Regions from separate parts of the Homo sapiens genome. Here region 1 is linked to region 2. The links are contacts of gene promoters, found by promoter capture Hi-C in human tissues and cell types (Jung and others, 2019). All regions are on one chromosome and are shown on one strand. Each heading gives the region's core, a stretch centred on a gene start or on the middle of the fragment in contact. The rest is flanking DNA. Distances are from core to core; before and after follow the strand shown. Region 1 has its middle 12 kb from the start of RAB10. Region 2 holds the start of KIF3C (kinesin family member 3C).

Evidence for each region. Contacts are between HindIII fragments. The study calls those that stand out against the background at their distance.
Region 1: a fragment that was not itself captured here is called in contact with the fragment with the promoter of KIF3C in region 2 in 1 of the 25 tissues and cell types used here (neural progenitor cells).

The regions. Positions count from the first base shown.
Region 1 is chr2:26,019,352-26,025,426 of GRCh38, forward strand. No RefSeq gene overlaps it. Among named protein-coding and RNA genes, the nearest start is that of RAB10, 12 kb to the right of the region's middle. The HindIII fragment of the contact is 6,969 bases long and covers 1-5,372 here.
Region 2 is chr2:25,981,072-25,986,904 of GRCh38, forward strand. KIF3C (kinesin family member 3C) reads right to left here and starts at 1,426. Exons shown (of 8, transcript NM_002254.8): 1 at 1-1,426. The coding sequence starts at 846. RefSeq lists enhancers at 197-705, 706-1,215 and silencers at 1,205-1,364, 1,505-1,674. The HindIII fragment of the contact is 11,133 bases long and covers 1-5,833 here.

The sequences.
Region 1 (6,075 bases), core at 638-3,137, 39 kb after region 2:
ATCCTCCCACCTCAGCCTCCCTACCAGCTGGGACTACAGGTGCATACCACCTTGCCCTGCTAATTTTTGTATTTTTTGTAGAGACGGGGTTTCACCATGTTGCCCAGTCTGGTCTTGAACCCTGGGCCTCAAGCAATGTGCCAGATTTGGTCTTCCAAAGTGCTGGGATTACAGGTGTGAGACACCATGCCCGGCCTCTTTTAACCTATTTAAACACTTGTTTCTTCATCTGAAAATGGGGATGATCATAGTTCCTACATCAATGTATTATTGTGAAGTCATGCCTCTAAAGGGCCAGAACAATGCAGGAACTCCATAAATGAAAACTCATGTTGTTAGATAAAATATAAAAATACCCCAGGCATGGTGGCTCACGCCTCTAATTCCAGAACTTTGGGAGGCTGAGGCAGGAGGACTGCTTGAGGCCAGGAGTTCAAGACCAGCCTGGGAAACATAGTGAGACCCCATCTCCACTTAAAAAAAAAAAAAATTAGCTGGGTGTAGTGACTCACACCTGTAATCTCAGCTACTTGGGAGGCTGAGGCAGGATGATCACTTGAGCACAGGAGTTTGAGGCCACAGTTAGTTATGATTGAGCTATTGTATTCCAGCCTGGGTGACAGAGTGAGACCCGCCTAAAAAGAAATTAGCTGGGTGTGATGGCACACACCTGTAATCCCAGCTACACGGGAGGCTGAGGCAGGAGAATCAGCTTGAACCCAGGAGGCAGAGGTTGCAGTGGGCCAAGATGGTGCCACTGCACTCCAGCCTGGACAGAGCAAGACTGAGTCTCAAAACAAGCAAACAAACAAACAAGCAAACAAACAAAAAAGGGAGCCTCTGCAACTTTCCTATCTCTTTGCCTGTGTCCCTCTTTCCTCCTGGTGACCCTCCCTTCCAGCATCTGAGGACTCTGCCCTGCCAGCACGAGGCCCACTGCTGACATCATGACAGGGTTAGGATGACTGCCCAACCTGTCTAGGCCTCAGGATGGGCTGGGAGCACAGGTCACCTGAACCTGGGGTAGAGGGGGCTAGAAAGAGGCAGTGGAGACCCAGGAAAGAGGAACCGAGGCTGCAGCAGCCTTGGAGGGCAGGCAGGAGCCAAGTTTCAGCAGAGGTGCAGCACATTCAAGTGGCAAGGTCAGCAGAAGGTGGGAAAGAGGAAGTGGACGTGCACAAATGTCAGGTAGAGCTGGAGTCATCCTGGGAATTTTACCAGAAACAAGTGTATCAGTCACGGGTTTTGGTTGCAACAGAAACTGATATTTGGCATTTAGAAGCAGAACATACATTTACTGAAAGGCTATTGGGAAGCTCTCAGAATTACTGGGAAGGCTAGAGAAACAGGCTCAGGGATCTGGGGAAAGCAACAGGCCACAGATTCAGTCTGTTAGGCCAAGCAGTGAGTCCATCACTGCCCCTGCCGGACCCCAAAGAGATTCTGTAGCCTATAGCACCATGGTGGCCAGCACTGGACTTGGGATCCCATCCAGCTCTGGGGTCCAGAGGTGGCCCAGAAACCAAGTGCTACTGCTCTCAGTCGCCCTCACTGTGCCTGCTTCTTTGTGTAGCTGTACACCTGTAATCCCAGCTACTCAGGAGGCTGAGGCAGAAGAATGACTCGAACCCGGGAGGTGGAGGTTGCAGTGAGCTGAGATTGTGCCACTGCCCTCCAGCCTGGGCGACTGGGTAAGACTCCATCTCAAAAAAAGAAAAAAAAAAAAAAGAAAGAAAGAAATAGCATCCCTATTTGGCCTTCAAGGACACAGGGCAGGTTTGCCCTGTGGACACCAGTGCCCTGAGGGAGGGCAAAAGGTAGTGGAACCCTGAATGCATAAGCTACATGGGCAAAAGTCTGGCTTCCTCTTGGGAGTATTTTTTCTTTTATTTTTATTTTCAATGTTTGTGGGTACATAGTAGGTGTATATATTTATTGGGTACATGAGGTGTTTTGATACAGACATGAAATGTGAAAGAAGCACATCATGGAAAATGGGGTATCCATCCCCCCAAGCATTTATCCTTTGAGTTACAAACAGTAAAATTATACTCCTTTAAGTTATTATTATTATTTTTTGAGACAGAATCTTGCTCTGTCACCCAGGCTGGAGTGCAGTGGCGCGATCTCAGCTCACTGCAACCTCCACCTCCCAGATTCAAGCGATTCTCCTGCCTCAGCCTCTGCAGTAGCTGAGACTACAGGCGCACACCACCATGCCCGGCTAATTTTTTGTATTTTTAGTAGAGACAGGGTTTCACCATGTTGGCCAGGATGGTCTCGATCTTCTGACCTCGTGATCCGCCCACCTTGGCCTCCCAAAGTGCTGGGATTACAGGTGTGAGCCACTGCGCCCGGCCCCTAAGTTATTTTTCTTGGAGGTATTTTGGCCAACAGAGATGGCTGCTTTTAGATATTGTCTTGACAGTGACTGACTCAATTAGCAGGTGTGTAAGGGCTTTTGATAACCTATACTTCTACTCTTTCTCTGGCTCCAGGAAAAAGGTGAGGTAGCTTGCAAATAACTGGATTTTTCCAAACAGCTAGCACCAGACAGGGAGGGGAAAGAGCTGACAGCTGAGAGTTGAGCACCAAGCTTCAGAAACTGACAATTCCATAAAGTCCATGGCCAAGTTCATATGATGAAATAAATCTGTCACATTTTTAAATTTGCATGACTATTGTTATGCTATGTGGCAGTTAGGCATAAAAGAAACAGCCAGAATCTATATTTTTTGTATTGATCCAAACCAAATATTTAGGGTTTTTCTTCTCATTTTGATATTTTTCTGCAAATGATAACTATAAAGAGTATCAATATCAATGTCATCTACCTCCATGTGCAATTTGATCTTCTCAATTTGTTTAAAAATTTAGATCTGGGATGCTGAGCACTGAGTTAATCACATTCCTCACTTTCTAGCACATTGACCACTGACTATGTGGTCTGTGCAAGGTCCTACTCATTTTATATTTTTCCCCCTTCTTTTTTTTTTTTGAGACAGAGTCTCGCTCTGTCGCCCAGGCTGGAATGCAATGGCACGATCTCGGCTCAATGCAACCTTCACCTCCCAGATTCAAGCAATTCTCCTGCCTCAGCCTCCCGAGTAGCTAGGATTACAGGCACCTGCCATCATGCCCAGCTAATTTTTGTATTTTTGTAGAGACGGGGTTTCATCATGTTGGCCAGGCTGGTCTTGAACTCCTGACATCAGGTAATCAGCCCGCCTCGGCCTCCCAAAGTGCTGGGATTACAGGCGTGAGCCACTGTACCCAGCCTATTTTTCCCCCTTCTTCCCTCTCATTGCCTTCTTCTTCCATAGGTTTCATGTGTAATATGTTTGATGTATGTTATTAAACATGTGTGAAACCTCATAAAAGAAAGTTGTTGTTTGTAATTTACCTGAATGGCATTGTATTATAAATCTTTTTTTTTTTTTAATGAGATAGAGTCTTGCTCTGTCACTCACGCTGGAGTGCAGTGGTATGATCTCGGCTTACTGCAACCTCCACCTCCCAGGTGCAAGCAATTCTGTCTCAGTCTCCCGAGTAGCTGCGATTACAGGCGCCTGCCACCACATCTGGCTAATTTTTGTATTTTTAGTAGAGACAGGGTTTCACCATGTTGGACAGGCCAGTCTCAAACTCCTGACCTCGTGATCTGCCTGCCTAGGCCTCCCAAAGTGCTGGGATTACAGGTGTGACCACCACGCCCAGCCTATAATTCATTTTCTGTTTCCTTTGTTTCAGTTCACTATGTTGCTGAAGGTGTAGCTAGTTAGGGGCTTAATAGTGCATGTGGGATAGGCCACGGGCAAGCCTGCTATCGGCCCAATAATACAAGAAACTTTCTTATATGGTATACGGTAGGCCCTTGAATGCTGACCTGGCCTCCTCCTGTGGTTAATCCTACAAAAAAAAGCTAGTCCCAGGCTGGGTGCGGTGGCTCACGCCTGTAATCCCAGCACTTCGGGAGGCCAAGGTGGGTGGATCGCCTGAGGTCAGGAGTTTGAGACCAGCCTGGCCAACATGGTGAAACCCCATCTCTACTAAAAATACAAAAATTAGCCAGGTGTGGTGGCATGCACCTGTAATCCCAGCTCCTCGGGAGGCTGAGGCAGGAGAATCACTTGAACCTGGGAGGCGGAGGTTGCAGTGAGCCGAGGTCATGCCACTGCACTCCAGCCTGGAGAATAAGACCGAGAATTCGTCTCAAAAAAAAAAAAAAAAAAAGCTAGTCCCAACTCTGACCTCATTAGACCAGTTTTCTCCCTATGAATGTGGGATAGGCCATGGGTAAGGCCTGCGGTGATCACCAGAACTTAGGCATGTTTCTGTGAGGAACTAGAAAAGCATTGTTCTTTGCTTATGTGCTTATTTCACATTGCATGCCTGTATCATTGTTCTTTGCTTAGCTTGTTTGCCAATTTGTTATTTTTATTTTTATATTTTTTTTGAGCGGGAGTCTTGCTCTGTCACCCAGGCTGGAGTGCAGTGGCATGATCTCAGCTCACTGCAACCTCTGCCTCCTGGGTTCAAGCGATTCTCCTGCCTCAGTCTCCCGAGTAGCTGGGATTACAGGCCTACACCACCACGCCTGGCTAATTTTTTTTTTTTATTTTTAGTAGATACGGGGTTTTACCATGTTTTCCAGGCTAGTCTCAAACTCCTGACCTCAATTGATCCACCCGCCATGGCCTCCCAAAGTGCTGGGATTACAGGCTTAAGCCACCGCACCTGGCCCCAGTTTATTAATAAACAGAAGTGCTAACAACCTTAACTTGGGTCTGAGTTGTCATAATAGCCAATTTTCAAACCCAAGCCAACCCTTTCTGATCTGCTCTAACTCAGTGAGCATCCATTGTATTTTATTTACTTATTCTCCTAGTAATAGATGCTTAGATTGGTTCCAATCCAACATCTAGCTACGACAAAGCAATGATGAACCTGTGTGGGAATTTCTCTTGGACGCCCCCAGGAATAGTGCTGTTGAGTCACAGGTATGTACATTATTTATTAAATATTGCCTTGTTGCTTCCCAGAATGGGTAGACCAGATTGAATTCCTGTCAGCTATGCATGAGAGTTCTCATCTCTTCACATCTTTACCAACACTTGGTATTATCCATCTTTCTAATTTTTGCCATGCTGATGGATGGAAAATATTATCTTATTGTTTAATTTTAATTTCTCTGGTTACAAACTTGAATATTTTGTTTCAGAACATTTCTTCATATAGTCATACACTTCTGTTAATTGCCTGTTCTTCTTCTTAATTTTATTTTTTTAGAAGAGGTCTTCCTTTGTCTCTCAGATTTGAGTGCAGAGACACCATCACAGCTCACTGCAACCTTGAACTCCTGGGCTCAAGTGATCCTCCTACCTCAGCCTCCTGAGCAGCTAGGACTACAGGCGTGAGCCACCATGTCCAGCTAATTTTATTTTTTGTAGAGACAGGGTTTTTTTTTTTTTTTGAGACAGAGTCTCTCTCTGTTACCCAGGCTGGAGTGCAGTGGCACTATCTCGGCTCACTGCAAGTTCCACCTCCCAGGTTCACGCCATTCTCCTGCCTCAGCGTCCCGAGTAGCTGGAACTACAGGCGCCCACCACCAGGTCCAGCTAATTTTTTTGTATTTTTAGTAGAGACGGAGTTTCACCATGTTAGGCAGGATGGTCTCGATCTCCTGACTTCGTGATCCTCCCGTCTTGGCCTCCCAAAGTGCTGAGGTTACAGGCGTGAGCCACCGCACCCGGCTGAGACAGGGTCTTGCCATATTGCCTAGGCTGATTGGGATCAAGTGATCTTCCCTCCTCAGCCTCCCAAAGTGTTGAGATTACAGGCACGAGCCACTGTGCCTAGCCTTCTTGGTCTATTTTAAATTTGTAAATGTGAAATGTAATTTTAATCATAATTTATTGTATAGCTCTTTAGTTACAATGCAGTTAACCTGGAAGGTGGTTTTGAAACCATCTTCGTCTTAGATATTTCTACTACCTGCCAGTGGTAGCTTGATCTGGTTATTTCCATGGGATTATGCCCTCAACTCAAACATAATGTTCAATTATGGGTGTCATA
Region 2 (5,833 bases), core at 176-2,675:
AGCACCACCACCACTGCCTCCACCGCCACCACCGCCACCCGAGGATGGTGTGGCTGCCCCTCCCGCTGTGTTGGGGCCTGCCTTGTTCTGCCTCTCGCTGCCAGCCAGGTCCACGAGGTTGAGCTTGCCCACTCGGATGTGGTCCTGGCCATCAGAGCCACGTTCGCTGCACTCCACAGTGATGATGAAGATGGCATGGGAGCGGGAGCTGACCTCATTCATGTGGGTGCTGCCCACAGCCCGGGTCTGGTTCCCCAGGTTCATCACATGCTCAATCTCCTTGACATTCTTGGTGACGAAGGAGGAGAGGTCCTTGATGTAGACGCCAGTCTCGGGGTTCTCTTTCAGCTCTAGCCTCTTGCCCGGCTCCTTGGAGAGCAGGTCTCGAATCTCTTCCTGGTAGATCTCCAAATAGGAGGCCCGGACCAGGTACTGTTGGTTCTGGGAGCGGGAGATGTGGGTGAAGATGTGCTCAAAGGCATTCGGGATGACCCCGCGCAGCTCGGGCTCCACCCAGGTCCCCTGCATGGTATAGGTCTTGCCAGTGCCCGTCTGGCCATAGGCAAACACCGTGCCATTGAAACCCTGGAGCACGGAGTCTATCAGGGGCCTCACGGTTTCGTCATACAGGTCGGCCTGCTTGGAGCTGGCATCATACACGGCGTCAAAGGTGAAGGTCTTGGGCAGCTCCCCCGGGGCGGCGCGGGGGTTCCGCAGGGTCACCTGGCCCAGTTTCACGTCCATGGTCAGGATCTGCTCGTGACCAGCAGCCTCCTCCTTCCTGCTGAGGGGGCGGCACCGGGCCACCACCTTGAGGGCCTCGCTGGCCTTGGTCTTACTGGCCATCTTGCTGCTCTGACCTTCCTGCCCCCGAGCCCCTCCGCAGCCTGGGCGGTCCTGCTATCCTGCTCGCTAGGTCGGGATCAGCGGGGCCGGCCCAGCCCCCAGGCGCAGCTCTTCAATCCGCATGCAGCCTCCTAGGGTGGGGACGCTGGGAGGTGGCCCCAACGCTGCTGCAGTCCGGGCCTCCACCGCTCTCCGGTCCTCTCTGCACCGGCTGGGAGGTGAATTAGGCAGAATCCCCCAGTCGCCGCGGGAGCAGCGCCTGCCGAGCAGCCGTGCCCGGAGCCCGCCCCATGCAGGAGCAGAGGGAGCGCTGCCGTAAACAGCTTCGGCAACAATGAGATAAAGGAAGAGGAAAATGGGATGGGGGTGGGCGGCGAGCTGTCTTCTCCTCCTTCCTCTAGGGATCCATAGCGTGGGCTGCCGGTCGTGGGCGGCCGGGGGTCCCGGGCCTCCCGAGGGCAGAGGCTCACCTGGAGTCCTCCCCCCAAGCTGGGGGATCATTCATTGCAGCCAGCGCGGCTGCTGCTGCCTCTGCCTCCGCCTTCCCCGCCGCCGCCACTGGAGAATGAGAGAGAAAAACAGAAGGGGATGGGGCGGAGCAGCGGCAGCGAGAGTGATGTTGCCGCCGCGCTGCGGCCCCAGCTAAGCCTCCCGACTGGGGTGGGGCAGGGGGCGGGGCCGCGGGGCGGGAGGCGCGAGCCCGGAGCGGCCCGGGTGCGGGGGACAGGGGCGCATCGCCGTCTCTGCACCCCCGCCGACCGCTCCGGGATGACAGGCTCCGGTGCCGACCCAGGTCCTGCGCCCACCAGTCGGGTGCAGCGCAGCCACCGCCCGCCGTCACCCCACCGAGCCCGAGCATGCCGGGAATTGTAGTCCTGCCTTTGTTAACCGGGTTCTGGCAGGTTGCTAATGCCTTTCCCGGTCCCCCAGTCCGGGAGGCGCCTCCCTCATCCGCATGCCACCCCTTGAGTGACTGCTGAGCTTGCACCACCTATGCCTGGTCCCTCCGAGCCACCATCCTCGGACACCCCCCTGCTCCTGCCTTTCTGCCTGCAAATGGGTGCGCGTCACCCCTCCCCGTCAGGGTGTCGCCAGGCCTCCGGGAACCGAACTCCTAAATGTTCCTTGACTCTGTCCTTTCCTCCCCCTGTCCCGGTCTACTTCTGGCCTTCCTCTTCTCTCTGCTGGAGCCCACCTTCCAGCTGATTCTCTCGCACCTTATGTCCGCACAAGCACCCGGGAGCCCCCTCGCTCCTCCTCCACCGCCTTCCTTGTGTGAAAGCCTCTCCATCTTCCGCCTTCGCAGCCTCACCGCCACTACTCCTCTATAGAAAAATCTGTGTTCCAGACAGCCATTTCTTCAGTTATCCAGCGCCTGCTGAGCCCCAGGCCCCATTCTAGGATCTGGGTCCTTCCTGTCCTCAAGCAGTGCACATTCCCGGAACCGTGTTTTGTTTCTTTAACTGGCTTTGCTGTGCAGCATCTTTGTGCTTTTGCCCAGAGGCCTGGTCACCCTTCGGCACTTAGTGCCCTGCCACTTGGGCAGTTCAAGCACCTCCTCCTCCACGAAGCCTTCCCTTAGCAATTTTTTTTTTTCTATAGTGAAAGAGGCACAGAATTTACCTAAGACAAAACCTGGATTGAAGTTCCAGTTCTGATGGCCATCCAATGGAGTGGCTTTGAGCAGTCACTCCCCTTGCTCCAGCCTTAGTTTCCTCATTTATTTTTTTAAAAATTCGAGGCGGGAAAGAAATAATTAACAACTACTTCATGGAATGGTTGGGAGGCTCAAATGAAATAATGAATCATGAAGTACTGTACCATGAGAAGTCCTGCCCTGGCTTGGATTGCCTGACAGCTCCTGCTTCCTTGAGTATCCTGGATAGACCATGTCTGTGCTTGGTGTTCCTCTATGGGAGTCTTAATCTTTTTTTTTTTTCCTGTAGGATACAAATAAAGTGTAATTCCACAAGGCCAAGGACCAAGCCAGAGTCCTATCCATGGTCCACTCTGCAGAGGGCAGTTGAGTCTGTGGACTGAGCCCAAGCTGTCTGTCTTTACTCTCCATATGAGAACCAGATTGAGAGGTGCTGTTATCTGAAACCTGGAGACCCTTCTTCACAGAGGCACCAGAAGAGTCTTTCCACAAAACATTTCCAAGCATGTTATCCTCTAGAGGACCCAATTGTTTAGTTTTCCAACTCAACAAAATTTACCTCCTTAACTCTTCCCCATCCCAGAACTTTAGCGTGAGCTGGACTAGAGGCTTGAGACTTAGCTGAGAGCTTGCCCGCTTCTGAAGCTCCCTGGCCTCCCTCCACCCTCTCCTTGATTAAGCTCCACTGCTTATGATTAACATGGCTTTTGGACCAATTACGGGGTGGGGTTTTGGCTCCGTAGACTAACCCCTCTTGGCTCTCACAACATGATTTCTGGATGGAGCCTTTAGTTCTTCAACTATTTTCTGGTTGCATTCGGCTTTGGGTTTTGAATACCCTTTCTCTGCTTAGGCTAATGTATCTGACACTACAGCGCTGGATAAAAGGGATTCTCACCCTGTTCTCCCCACTTGATGTCACCACCTGGCAGGGGACTTACCCAGATCCTCTTGTGTGAGAGGGAGATTGGAATCGCGTTGCTTACAAGATGTGTGATCCTAGGCCAGGCGCGGTGGCTCACGCCTATAATCCCAGCACTTTGGGAGGCCGAGGCGGGTGGATCATGAGGTCAAGAGATCGAGACCATCTTGGCCAACATCATGAAACCTCATCTCTACTAAAAATACAAAAATTAGCTGGGCATGGTGGTGCACGCCTGTAGTCCCAGCTACTTGAGAGGCTGAGACAGGAAAATAATTTGAACCCAGGAGGCAGAGATTGCAGTGAGGCTAGATGGCGCCACTGCACTCCAGCCTGGCGACAAAGCAAGACTCCATCTCACACACACAAAAAAAGATATGTGATCCTGGGGAAATTATTTAACTTCTCTGAACAGCTATTTTTTCAGTGGAATAAATGAGGATAAGAATGCTTACATTGACCAGGTGTGGTGGCTCAAGCTGTAATCCCAGCTATTCAGGAGGCTGAGGTAGGAGGATCGCTTAAGCCCGTAAGTTCAGGGCTGCAGTGAGCGATGATTGTACCACTGCACTCTAGCCTAGGGTAACAGAGTGAGAACCTGTCTCTGAAAAAAAAAGAGGGCTTACCTTACACATCAGGATTAAGTGAGATAATGTATGCAAAAACTCCTACGACATAGGAGGCACTCCAGAAATAGCAGTTTTCTTTTCTCTTGTCCTTTGCATTCAAGGCTGTTCACTTCAGCGTCTCCATTTTCACCGCTGTCTTCATTTTTCCTTCCTCTTACATACTCAAGTCTCCAGCCACTCTGATTAGCTTAAGTCCCCCAAACACACCCCACTTTTTTGTGTCTCCTTGTGTTTGCTCATGCTGCTCCTCTGCCCGAAATGTCCTAACTTTGTTTTTATTTCAATTAATTTATTTGAGAAGGGGTCTCATTCTGTCACTCAGGCTGGAGTGCAGTGGTATGATTATGGCTCACTGCAGCCTCAAACTCCTGAGCTCAAGCTATCCTCCTGCCTTAGCCTCCCGAATAGCTGGGACTACAGTTGCATGCCACCACACCTGGATAATTAAAAACAATATTTTTTTAGGCCGGGCGCGGTGGCTCACACCTGTAATCCCAGCACTTTGGGAGGCCAAGGCAGGGGGATCACAAGGTCAGGAGTTCGAGACCAGCCTGACCAACATAATGAAACCCTGTCTCTACTAAAAATACAAAAAATTAGCCGGGCATGGTGGTGGGCACCTGTAATCCCAGCTACTTGGGAGGCTGACGCAGGAGAATCCCTTGAACCCGGGAGGTGGAAGTTGCAGTGAGCCGAGATTGCACCAGCCTGGGTGACAGTGCAAGACTCTGTCTCAAAAAAACAAAAACAAACAAACAAAAAACAATATTTTTTAACATTAGCCAGGTCTCACTCTGTTGCTGAGGTTGGTCTCAAATCCCTGGACTCAAGTGACTCTCACACCTTGGTCTCCCAAAGTGCTGGGATTACAGACATGAGCCACTGCACTCAGTCTTCCTAACTGTGTCTGTTTCTGTCTACATAGCCTCAGCTTCTATTCATTCCACTGCTCAATCTCACATGACTGGCCCAGTGCGGTGGTTCACACTGTAATCCCAGAACTTCGGGAGGCCGAGGTGGAAAGAGCATTTGAGGCCAGGCGTTCGAGACCAGCCCCATCTCAATTAAAAAAACAAACTTATATGGCTTCTCCTCCCACTACGCAATAGAGACCTCTCTTACCAAGGACATCAGTGAGTTCCAGTGCCACCCTCTAGTGTCATTATAGCTTATGGCTTCCATTATTGTCTATATAGTTCCTAGATTTGTATCTCCAGTCCAGACCTCTCTTCTGAGTTCTAAACCTCTATATCCGACTCTGTAATGGACAGAGCCACTTTGGTGGCTCTCCAGGTACCTGAATTTCTACTTGTTCACACTGAACTCATTATTCTCCCCTCCAAAAATATTACCTAGCTCTGTAAATAGCACTTCCTTCAGTCTCAGTGTATCCATTTGAATACATTGAATCCATTTGAATACGAAATTCTGCCAACTTCCTGCGTATTTCTCAGATTTATCCATTTATTTTCTACTTCCATAGGGGCTATCATGACCAAGCCATCGTATTCTCTGGCCTGACCTCCTATAGTAGCCTCCAATCTGGCCTCTCTGAATGGGGAGATTCAGAGTCTGCTCTTACCCCTATGTATTCATTCTTCAGAAAGCAATCTTTTTGACTGGGCACGGTGGCTCACGCCTATAATCCCAGCATTCTGGGAGGCTCAGGTGGATGGATCACCTGAGGTCAGGAGTTCAAGACCAGCCTGGCTGATGTGGTGAAACCCCGTCTCTACTAAAAATACAAAAATTAACCTCGTCTCTATTAAAAATACAAAA